4 separate regions of the Homo sapiens genome follow, and regions 1, 2 and 3 are each linked to region 4. Evidence: promoter capture Hi-C in 16 types of primary human blood cells and fetal thymus (Javierre and others, 2016). All regions are on one chromosome and are shown on one strand. The core of a region is centred on a gene start or on the middle of the fragment in contact, and the rest is flanking DNA. Distances in the headings are between cores, read along the strand shown.

Region 1 (2,700 bases), core at 107-2,606, 790 kb after region 4:
GTCAGATGGTGGCTCAACCCCTACCTGGACCCTCGGACCCAGAACGCTCTCCCCGGCCTCTGTGCCTCCGCGCAGTTTCGGCTACTGCATCTGCTCAGCAGCAGGCGCGGCCTCTGGGAAGGGGCAGCGGAGCCCCGCCCCGGCCCGCCCCTTAAGGTGGAACCTCGGGGACTGCCCCAGCCGTGGGCGGCTCAGGGTAGTAAAGTCAGGAACACGCCTCCGACAGTACTTCCTGCATGGTCCAATTTCTCATCTCCAACCTGTCTAACCCTAAAGTTCTTTTCAACCTGATTCTGGGAAGGCCTGGCACGGAGCCACCTTTAAGTGGACTAGGCCTGTGATCCTGCCCCAAATCCCGAGGCCCCTCCAGTGTCCTTTAGGCCTTACCGCCCCCAAACGCCCCTCTTCTTCCATTCCGGCAGGCTAGTGACTACCCCAACACCATCCTCCATTTGCCCCTGGTTCACGGCTCCGGCCGCCGTCTGGTTTTCCCAACTTTGCATGGCTACTTGCACTCTCAGAGGCAGCCAGTCACAACTTCTGCCTTTTCCCCCACCAAGGCTTGCCCTCTCAGGCCTCTGGGACTTGGCGCTAGACCTCTGCTAGACCTCTGCTTCCGTGCACGGCTTACTCCCACTCGTTTTTCAAGACTCATCTTGAATTCATTTCAAGAAATTCCTCATGCAGCAACTATTTATTGTGTACTCACTACAATACTTTGCTTTGTTAACTTTATTGAATTTAACACTAATCCAGCCTTCTTCACAGTACTTTAAAATGAATGGTTTGGGCAGGAAGGTTGAGGTAGACACCCCCCTTCTTATCCTACCCCACCCCCAGCTGCTAGCACCTGGATGTTTGGCAGCTAGGAATCAGACATCCAGAAGAGACTGATAGGGCTGTAATGAACATAACAGAGCTAGGTCTCAGAGGCATCCACCTTTTTTGTGGAATAGACCAGAAGATGCCATGGCCAGACTCTTACCCACCTTGCAGGAACTCCCACAGTTATCCCCAAACTCCCCCAAGGTCCTGTCTCCCTATCACTTCACTATGTTAGGCCTTGGAGGCAGCTGGTACTGCAGAGGCTTTGAAGAAGCCTAGAATTCCCTCCACAGGGTCCTTGGATTGAAGTGGGGCAGAGACAGGGTTCACAGCAGGGAACTACCGGACATCAACACCGTGGGGTGCCAACACTCTCAGGAACTCCTTGTTCCTAAACAGTGCCAGTTGGGCTACTTTCAGAGAGGAGCTGGAGGAAATCGGTTCTTTCTCCCTTTCCCACCTAGGCTGGAAGCCAAGATTGCTGTGTATTTGGAAGAAAGCAAAAGCCAAGATCTGAAGTAATAGCATAGAGAAAAGGGTCACCCTCTGCTAGTCCCCTCTGCAACCCCAGGCATCCAACCCCATCCCCACCCTAGGAACAAGGGGTGCACGGGGCAGCCCCTGGGAGAAGGCAAGCAAGTGGGTTCAGACCAGTGCTCAAAGATAATAAGAGATCCAAGGTGCCCTGCATGTGCCAGATAAGAAGTGCCAACCAGAGGTTCTGAATGGACTATATCTCGAGCACAAAAGCTCAAGGCTGGGCGCAGTGTGACTCATGCCTGTCACCTAGCCCTTTAGGAGGCCAAGGAGGGAGGATTCCTTGAGGCCAGGAGTTTAAGACCAGACGGGGCAACATAGTGAGACTCCATTTCTAAATAAATAAAAAAATAAATTTTAAAATTATCTGGGCCTGGCTGGGTGTGGTGGCTCACACCTGTAATCCCACCTACTAATCCCTGTAATCCCACTTCTCATGCTGTGGCATGAGAATCGCTTGAACCCAGGAGGTAGAGGTTGCAGTGAGCCAAGAATGGGCCACTGCACTCCAGTCTGGGTGATAGAGCAAGACTCTGCCTCAAAAAAACTAACAGGCCAGGTGTGGTGGCTGACACCTGTAATCCCAGCACTTTGGGAGGCTGAGGGTGGCGGATAACTTGAGGTCAGGAGTTCGTGACCAGCCTGGCCAACATGGTGAAACCCCATCTCTACTAAAAATACAAAAATTAACTGGACATAGTAGCACACGCCTGTAGTCCCAGACTTGGAGGGGTGAGGCATGAGAATCGCTTGAACCCGAGAGGCAGAGGTTGCAGTGAGCCAAGATTGCGCGGCTGCACTCCAGCCTGGGTGACAGAGTGAGACTCTGTCTCAAAAAAGAAAAAAAAAGGCCAGGCGTGGTGTCTCACACCTGTAATACCAGCACTTTGGGAGGCCGAGGCAGGTGGATCAAGAGGTCAGGAGACCGAGACCATCCTGGCTAACACAGTGAAACCCCGTCTCTACTAAAAATGCAAAAAAAAAAAAAAAAAATCAGCCAGGCGTGGTGGCGGGTGCCTGTAGTCCCAGCTACTTAGGAGGCTGAGGCAGGAGAATGACGTGAACCTGGGAGGCGGAGCTTGCAGTGAGCCAAAATCGCGCCACTGCACTCCAGCCTGGGATACAGAGCAAGACTCCGTCTCAAAAAAAAAAAAAATTATCATCTGTAATTGGTGATGTGCCCCTGGAGTCCCATGAGATGCCAACACTCAAGGGAAGCAAAAGCAGGAGGATCACTTGAGTCCAGGAGTTTGTGAGGCTGCAGTGAGCCATGGTGGCACCACTGCATACCAGCCTAGGAGACAGAGCGAGACCCTGTCTCTAAAAATAAGTAAGAAC
Region 2 (2,700 bases), core at 57-2,556, 640 kb after region 4:
GTCTCAGATGAGACTTTGGACTATGGACTTTTGAGTTAATGTTGGAATGAGTTAAGACTTTGGGGGACTGTTGGGAAGGGATGATTGGTTTTGAAATGTGAGGACATGAAATTTGGGAGGGGCCAGGAGTGGAATGATACGGTTTTGCTCTATCCCCACCCAAATCTTGAATTGTAGCTCCCATAATTCCCACGTGTCATGGGAGAGACCCAGTAGGGGGTAACTGAATCATGGGGGTGGGCATTTCCCATGATAGTGATTTCATGATAGTGAATAAGTCTCACAAGATCTGATGGTTTTATAAAGGGGAGTTCCCCTGCACACACCCTCTCTTGCCTGCCACCACGTAAGATGTGACTTTGTTTCTCCTTCATCTTCCACCATGATTGTGAGGCCTCCCCAGCCATGTGGAACTGCGAGTCCATTAAACCTCCTTTCCTTTATAAAGTACTCAGTCTTGGGTATCTGTATTGTCAGCATGAGAACAGACTAATACACTGTCCCCTCAATGGGACCTCACCCAAGAGGCTACCTGCGAGCAGAAGGCAACCCCAGCAGAAAGAGGCTTTTTTGGTAGTACTGGGCAGAGTGTGAGAGATCAGCTGGGCATCACTCACATCAAGAATGGTGTGGGGGCCGGGCACGGTGGCTCACGCCTGTAATCCCAGCACTTTGGAAGTCTGAGGTGGGCAGATCACCTGAGGTCGGGAGTTCAAGACCAGCCTGGCCAACATGGTGAAACCCCATCTCTACTAAATTGCAAAAATTAGCCACGTGTGGTGGTGCACACCCATAATCCCAGCTTCTAGGGAGGCCTAGGCAGGAGAATTGCTTGAACCCAGAAGGCAGAAGTTGCAGTGAGCCAAAACTGCACCACTGCACTCCAGCCTGGGTGACAGAGTGAGACTCCATCTCAAAACAAAAAAAACAATGGTATGGGCAGAGTTCCTGGAGGGGGAAGCCCAGCAGTACACCCCACATGGATGACAAGAGCACAACTGAGGAGCCCTCTCCTCTTCCTTTCCTCCCTCCTCCCTTCCCAGACCCTGAAGGAGCTGAAGCAGCTGCTAGGAGTGGGAGGGGAGGTGAATCCGAGAGAGTGAGGACATTGGCCATACACCCGCTGCCCATCCCCCCAACCTTCCCCACTGCGGAAAGCCAGGCCTGGTCAGCTTGAATAGGAGAAGCTTTATATTGGATGGAAGATAAATATTTTTATTTATATAGGACTGGGTTTATTTTCTTAACCTGACAAAAGCAGTTTCCTTTTTGCCCAACATTTTATAAGAATTTTCAAACATATAGAAAAGTTGAAAGAATAGTATAATAAATACCTATATATTCACCACCTAGATTCAAAACTTGTTAACATTGTGTGTATGTGTGTATACATGGTCTTGCTAAATCACTTGAAAGCAAGCTTCAGACACCATGACTCTTCATTCTTAAATCCTTCAATGTACATCTCCTAAAAGAATCAGACTTTTAATGTCTAAAATTGAAATTGATCTAATACCTGAAAAAAATGGGTAAACTATACTTAGCTGAAACATTTTCAAGGAGGGGTGCTATGGTTTGAATGTCCCCTCCAAAACTCATGTTGAAATTTAATTGCTATTGTGATGGTATTAATAGCTGGGGGCCCGGCACAGTGGCTCACACCTGTAATCCCTGCACTTTGGGAGGCCAAGGCGGGTGGATCACCTGAGGTCAGGAGTTCAAGACAAGCCTGGCCAACATGGTGAAACCCCATCTCTACTAAAAATACAACAATTAGCTGAGTCTGGTGGCATGCGCCTGTAATCCCAGCTACTTGAGAGGCTGAGGCAGGAGAATCGCTTGAACCTGGGAGGTGGAGGTTGCAGTGAGCCAAGATCGTGCCACTGCACTCCAGCCTGGGAGATGACAGTGAAACTCCGTCTGGAAAAAAAAAAAAAAAAAACAGGTGGGAACTTGAAGATATGATTAGGTCATGAGGGCTCTGCCCTCATCAGTGGGTTAATGCTGTTATCAGAGGAGTGGGTTAGTTATCCCGGAAGCAGGCTCCTGGTAAAAGGATAAGTTCAACCCCCAGTTCTGTCTGTGTCTCACACTCTCTCACCCTCTCTCACCATGTGATGCCTGCCACTATGTTATGATGCAGCACTAAGGCCATCACTAGATGCAGTACCATGCTCTTGGACTTCCCACCCTCCAGAACCATGAGCCAAATGAATCTCTTTTTTTATTTTTTTTAAATTACCCAGTCTGTGGTATTCTGTTATAGGCAACAGAAAATGGACAAAGACAATGTGGGGAGAGAGAAGCAACAGAGCAAGTGCAAGGATGGAGGCAGAAGAAAAATAAAAACTATACCCTACTTTGCACTCTACAAAATCCAGCCCATAAAATGACCCAGTTTCACAGAGATAAGACAATTTCAGATCATGACAGGTGCTATGAAGAAAATCAAACAAGACAGAGGTGATAAGAGTATGGCTAGAAGGTAAGGCAACATTGGAGTGGCTGGTAAGAAATGAAATCCCCAGAAAAAGAAGGTGACATTTGAGATGAGACCTTGATGACAAGGATGACCTGGCAATGTAAGACAATCAGGAGAACAGCATTCAAGTCAGGGTAACCAATGAGGCCAAAGGCCTGGAGGCAAAAGGAGCATGGAGTAATATCTTGGTGAGGGAGAGGTGGCAGAAAGTACTGAGG
Region 3 (2,728 bases), core at 46-2,545, 880 kb after region 4:
TGCTTTTTTTTTTTTTTTTTGCTGGAGTGCAGTGGCGCCATCTCGGCTCACTGCACGCTCTGCCTTCTGGGTTCATGCCATTCTCCTGCCTCAGCCTCCTGAGTAGCTGGGACTACAGGCACCCGCCACCATGCCTGGCTAATTGTTTGTATTTTTAGTAGAGACAGGGTTTCACCGTGTTGGCCAGGATGGTCTTGATCTCCTGACCTCGTGATCCGCCTGCCACGGCCTCCCAAAGTGCTGGGATTACAGGCGTGAGCCACCAGGCCCGGCCAGTGTTTTTGTTTTTGTTTTTGCGATGGAGATTCGCTCGTCACCCAGGCTGGAGTGCAATGGCACGATCTCGACTCACTGCAACCTCCGCCTCCCAGGTTCAAGCGATTCTCCTGCCTCAGCCTCCGAAGTAGCTGGGATTACAGGCATGAGCCACCACACCCGGCTAATTTTTGTATTTTTAGTAGAGACAGAGTTTTGCCATGTTGGCCAGGCTGGTCTCGAACTCCTGACCTCAAGTGATCCGCCTGCCTCAGCCTCCCAAAGTGCTGGGATTACAGGCGTGAGTCACCGCGCCCGGCGGATCTCTGAGGTTTTCTCATGGTGTAAAATAGGCACACTAGTGCCTACTTTATAGGCATTAAATGAACCCATGTTTATTAACCAGATTACCTGGCTGGGGTAAACGATGTAAATTATTGGCTTCTACCTTTACGTCAGCGTTTTCTCCATCTCTCATTTTGTCATTTAACACACTGTGCTACAATCATGTGGCAGCTTGATCATCTCCACTACACTATGCTTTATTTCTCGACAAAGCTCAGCACAAATGGCTTCTGATTTAACGGATGGACGCAGGTTCTGCACTGACTTCTGTTTCGGAACCACAGTAAGGCTGTGCAGCAGGAGCCACGAAACCCGACTCCACCTAGTGCTTTAAGACGCTACTGACCCGTCCCTTTGGCGAGGGGACAACTTCGAAGTATGACCTGGCCAGGAGGAGCCACAAAGCGCGATTAGCCTCGCTGCATTTCAGGTACAGGCCGGCGCCAGCCGTGCCTCACCAGGTCCACCGGCTCCGAGCAGCAGCAAGCCCGGTCGGAAAGCGAAAGTGGCCTCGCCATGTCCAGACCGGCCAGCTCCCCCGCCTACCTGACCCCGCCCCGCAGCCGCACCTGGGTCCGAGTCATCGCCGCGGCCGCCACGGCCCCGCACAGGAAGGCGGCAGCAAAGAGCGCAAGCTCGACGCGCTGCAGCCAGGACAGCGCCATGGCGCCCTGACCACCAGGAAGCGCCGCTGCAGCAGCACCCCGCCCAAAGCCCACCTTATCCGGCGCGACCCACGAAGGTGGAGACGTCATTTCCGGGGGCGGGATTTATTTACAAGGAACGAAGGGGCCACTGACTCAGAGCGGCAAGTACAGCGAGTAGTCCGAGAGCGCCCACCGGCGGGCGGGGCGGCTGGTACGGCCGATCATGGGCAGTTTCTGCACGTAGCGCGAGGCCGGGCTAGGCCCGTACGGCGCGGGGAAGGCAGTCTGGAAAAGGCGCCCGCGGCAGCGCCTCCCAGCCTGCCGCCCGGCTATGATGAAACGAAAGTGCGGGGCGCCGCGCGGGGCGAAACGGCTCTTCTGGAAAACGTCGCGGGTGCCGGTCCCGGGGCCCTGCTGCCGGGGTGCCCCGCGCGCCCGATGCACGCGCGGCAAGGGCCTGCTCTCAGAGGCGGCGGGCCCAGAGGCCGACGCGGGGCCGCCTCCGCCGCTGCCCCGGGGGCTCTCGTCGCCGTGCGGGCTGACTATGGCGCTTGCCGTCAGCTGCGGCATCTTCCGCACCGAGTCCGGGGCTGCCGCCGGCTCCTTCTTGTCCCCGGGCGGCCGCGGAGCCGTGGGTGCAGGCTGGCCGGTGCCAAAGCGTGTGGCCAAGCTGTCACCGAAGAAGGCGTAGAGCTCCCGGTAGATGTCGGCCAGGGTCACCGAAAGAGAAGGGTCCTCCGGCCCCGCGCCCCCTGGCGGCAGCGGGAGGCCGGACCCAAAGCTGGGTTCTGCACCGCCCCCGGAGGACGACTCTTGAAAGAGAAGGCTGTCCCATGGCAGGTCGTCCAGGCGCCGGCACCCCCTGCCACCTGGGCCACCCCTGTTGGGCTCTGCTGCCTGGGCCTTCATCTTCAGCAGTCGCTCTACCGCCACCTGTAAGAGCCAAGGACTAAGATAGGCAAAAAATTCGAGGAACCTGGGCCCATCAAATATTCCAAAGTAAGCCTGCTTGGCTGCTAAGCTCATGCAGGGAAGGGAGGCTGGAAGGGGACGGTACTCACCAGAATGGCTCCATAGACTTTGTGTCCATCTGCTTTGACCTGGGCATTAGATACTGAATAATCATCCAGCACAGCCTGCAAGTTTGTCCAGTAGGTGGACAGGTGTGGGTACAGGACTCGTTCTACTGCCTGGAAGGAAGAGAAGGAATACAGTTAGCATGTCTTTGATACTTATTCCCTCTCAAGGACCCTTTCCCATGAAAGACCTACCTTTATCTCTGATCCTAGACAGGGCTCAATCCTCCTAAATTCCCTGATTGGCATATTCAACCATATATTTATTTGGAACCTACTGTATACCTAAGCTAGGCATTGGGAATAAAGATAAGGTACAAAGGGAGACAATAAAAAATATACCCAATATCACTGCCCTGTGTGCTAAATAATGCTCATTACTGACAACTCCAAAATTTAGTTTGC
Region 4 (2,721 bases), core at 206-2,705:
ATTCAGTGGGAAGAGACAAACACAATGAAAGGTAAAACATAAGTCAGATAGTAGCAGGAAGTCTTTTTTTTTTTTTTTTTTTTTGAGATGGAGTCTTGCTCTTTCTCCCAGGCTGGAGTGCAGTGGTGCCATCTCCACTCAATGCAACCTCTCCTGCCTCAGCCTCCCGAGTAGCTGGGATTACAGGCGCCTGCCACCACGCCTGGTTAATTTTTTGTATTTTTAGAAGAGATGGGGTTTCACCATGTTAGCCTGGCTGGTCTTGAACTCCCGACCTCAGGTGATCCAACCACCTCAGCCTCCCAAAGTGCTGGGATTACAGGCGTGAGCCACCGCGCCTGGCCAAGTGGTATGAAGTCTTTTGGAGAAAAGTAATGCAGGGAAAAGGAGCAGAGAATGCTGGGATGTGCGTGCAAGTTTTTTTTTTTTTTTTTTGATGGAGTTTTGCTCCTGTTGCCTACGCTGGTGTGCAATGGTGCGATCTCGGCTCACTGCAACCTCCGCCTCCTGGGTTCAAGCGATTCTCCTGTTCAGCCTCTGGACTAGCTGGGATTACAAGCGTGCGCCACTACGCCTGGCTAATTTCGTATTTTTAGTAGAGACGGGGATTCTCCATGTTGGTCAGGCTGGTCTCGAACGCCCACGACCTCAGGTGATCCACCCGCCTCGGCCTCCCAAAGTGCTGGGATTACAGGCGTGAGGCACGGCGCCCGGCCTGGACTTCTTACATTAGCTATCAGAGCGGTGATGGTGCGCATCAGCCATGGCCAGGGACAGGAATATAGGGAGATGATAATAAAGGTGGTAATGAAGTCACGGCCACCTGCCCTTATGAAGTCAAAATCATTAAAGACCCAGTGACGTTCATGCCATCCAGGGTTGAGGCCTCTCTTCTGCCCACCTGTGGTCCCAGGCCTAGTTAAACACCAAAGCTGTCTCTCACACTGGTGGTTCCAGGATAAAGCCTCGGCCTGGGGCCTGGTCTGCACGTTAGGCGCCGGCCGCAGCTCGCAGGAGGACCCGAGCCAGCCCGCCCCTTCCCGCACAGCCTGCTGGGAGTTGTAGTTCAGTCGTCGGAGAACCACGCCAAGCCCCGCCCCAGATGAGTGCGCAGTATGAGGACCGCTGGCCGGGACCCAGTGAGCGCGGGACTACAATTCCCAAAGGACGGTAGCACTCAGCGCCCCGCCAACAGGTACCCGGCGGCTCGCTTCGCGCACACGCGGCAGGCGGTGGCGGGATTCTGCCGCGTGCGCTTTCCCGCCCCGCCTCGCCTAGCCTCGTCCTGCGCTCGCCACGCCTCGGGCTGTCCGTTGGGCCACGCAGACCGCGCTGCGCTCGCTCCGTCGCGGCTCCGCGTGCCCCACCTTCTGGCTAGTTTTTTCTAGAGCCCAGGCTCCGCCCGTTTCCCGCTTCCAGGGCCCGGTTCGTTCCCGCCCGCACCCGTCCCTCTCCTCTGCACCCCTGCTGCTTCTGCTTTGAAGGCGGAGGCTCCATGTTGTCCCCTCAGCGAGTGGCAGCAGCTGCCTCAAGAGGAGCAGGTGAGGCGCCGATTTTCCCTGGATCGCCCCGCGGCCACCCCCGCCGCCTTCCCTGCTGTAGTTCTGAAAAGAACCCCCGCCCGCGCCGCCGCCCTTCCTCGTCCCGGGGCTGGGACCGCGCGTCCCTCGCCGGGGTCACTCGGTTTCCGAATTTGTGGTGGGGGGGCCCCTCTTCGGGCCCAGCTGGTCCAGCGAGGGCGGCACCTTCCTTACTTTTCGGCCGGGGGCGGCCGCCGTCAGGGCTCGGGCCCTGGTGCCGCCGGGGGCTCCTCCAGCTCCTCCCCTGGGCTGCAGCTGCCCCTGGGCGGCCCAAGGGCCGGTGGTCCCCGTGGGCGGCGTCCGGAGCTTCGGCCCCGCCGAGCCCCGCCCTGGGCAGAGCCGGGCGCCCCAGGGCGCTGCCCCTCCGTGCCCGGGCACTCAGCGCCCTCTCTGGTCGGAGAATCGGGGCCTGGATGGAGCGGGAAGGTGAATGCTGGTTTATTTGGCCTTTCTGGAAGTGCTGGAAGGCTGCGAAGTGTCTTGGAAGCTTTATTTTTATCCTAACGACCTTGAGGCACTGACCACAAGTATTAGGAAAGTTGGTTTTCAACCCATACTTAACGCTGTAAAGAATTGGTCTAAATTGGTTTTTCGTAAGTTAGTGCTTTTGGCACAGTACGTTGTTCTTTTGCTTTCCCGAAGACATGAAACATAGTGAAAGTATTAAAAACCAAATAAGGAGTCACCGTGTATTCACGGATCTGATTTAGTCTGTCATTTTACTTGGCTTTATTCTAGTGTAATGTGTGTGCTGTTGAAATGACCGTTTCACTTGCGAAATCGAAGAGCAAAAAGGAAAAGAACAGTGAAGAATTTTTAAATGAGTCTCAGTTCTCAAATTCAAATACGAAGCAATGGAACGTTTTGTCAGTCTTAGAATAACGGACCAAAAATGTACGATTTCACATATTGGCTTACTTTTGGAGATTTAAGAAGCATAACCTACGGAGTACTAATCCCTGTCAAGAATTTAGCATTGCAACATAGGTACTGAAATTCAAATTAGTGCTTTTTTTTTTCCATTCCCACAGAGATTAGCTTGTACTCCAGAAATTCCTGTTGCCGCTCTAACACCTGTAAACACTTGGCTGAGAAGGATCTCAGTATTGCAGTAGTCCAGCACATTGTTTTATTATTATTT

What was found. The method cuts DNA at HindIII sites, captures the fragments that hold promoters and counts their contacts. A CHiCAGO score of 5 or more calls a contact.
Region 1: a fragment that was not itself captured here is called in contact with the fragment with the promoter of ATL3 in region 4 in 2 of 17 cell types (megakaryocytes and M1 macrophages); the score reaches 6.5 in megakaryocytes.
Region 2: a contact is called between a fragment that was not itself captured here and the fragment with the promoter of ATL3 in region 4, in 1 of 17 cell types (megakaryocytes). The highest score is 6.0, in megakaryocytes.
Region 3: the fragment with the promoter of TMEM179B here is called in contact with the fragment with the promoter of ATL3 in region 4 in 16 of 17 cell types (erythroblasts, naive CD8 T cells, neutrophils and 13 more); the score reaches 24.6 in erythroblasts.

What each region holds. Positions count from the first base shown.
Region 1 is chr11:62,878,288-62,880,987 of GRCh38, reverse strand. It overlaps SLC3A2 (solute carrier family 3 member 2), which reads right to left and starts at 92. Exons shown (of 9, transcript NM_001013251.3): 1 at 1-92. RefSeq lists enhancers at 1-70, 1-351, 721-770. The HindIII fragment of the contact is 6,323 bases long and covers 1-2,700 here.
Region 2 is chr11:63,025,125-63,027,824 of GRCh38, reverse strand. No RefSeq gene overlaps it. Among named protein-coding and RNA genes, the nearest start is that of SLC22A8, 11 kb to the right of the region's middle. The HindIII fragment of the contact is 233 bases long and covers 1,190-1,422 here.
Region 3 is chr11:62,785,969-62,788,696 of GRCh38, reverse strand. TMEM179B (transmembrane protein 179B) reads right to left here and starts at 1,295. Exons shown (of 5, transcript NM_199337.3): 1 at 1,170-1,295. The coding sequence starts at 1,265. TAF6L (TATA-box binding protein associated factor 6 like) reads right to left here. Exons shown (of 11, transcript NM_006473.4): 10 at 2,309-2,437; 11 at 1,355-2,180. The coding sequence ends at 1,401. It also overlaps a transcript of TMEM223 not described here. RefSeq lists a silencer at 1,665-1,774 and an enhancer at 2,025-2,224. The HindIII fragment of the contact is 7,473 bases long and covers 1-2,728 here.
Region 4 is chr11:63,670,110-63,672,830 of GRCh38, reverse strand. ATL3 (atlastin GTPase 3) reads left to right here and starts at 1,455. Exons shown (of 13, transcript NM_015459.5): 1 at 1,455-1,541. The coding sequence starts at 1,496. RefSeq lists enhancers at 939-1,048, 1,089-1,588, 1,589-2,090 and silencers at 1,139-1,258, 1,579-1,638, 1,669-1,928. The HindIII fragment of the contact is 2,416 bases long and covers 1-2,069 here.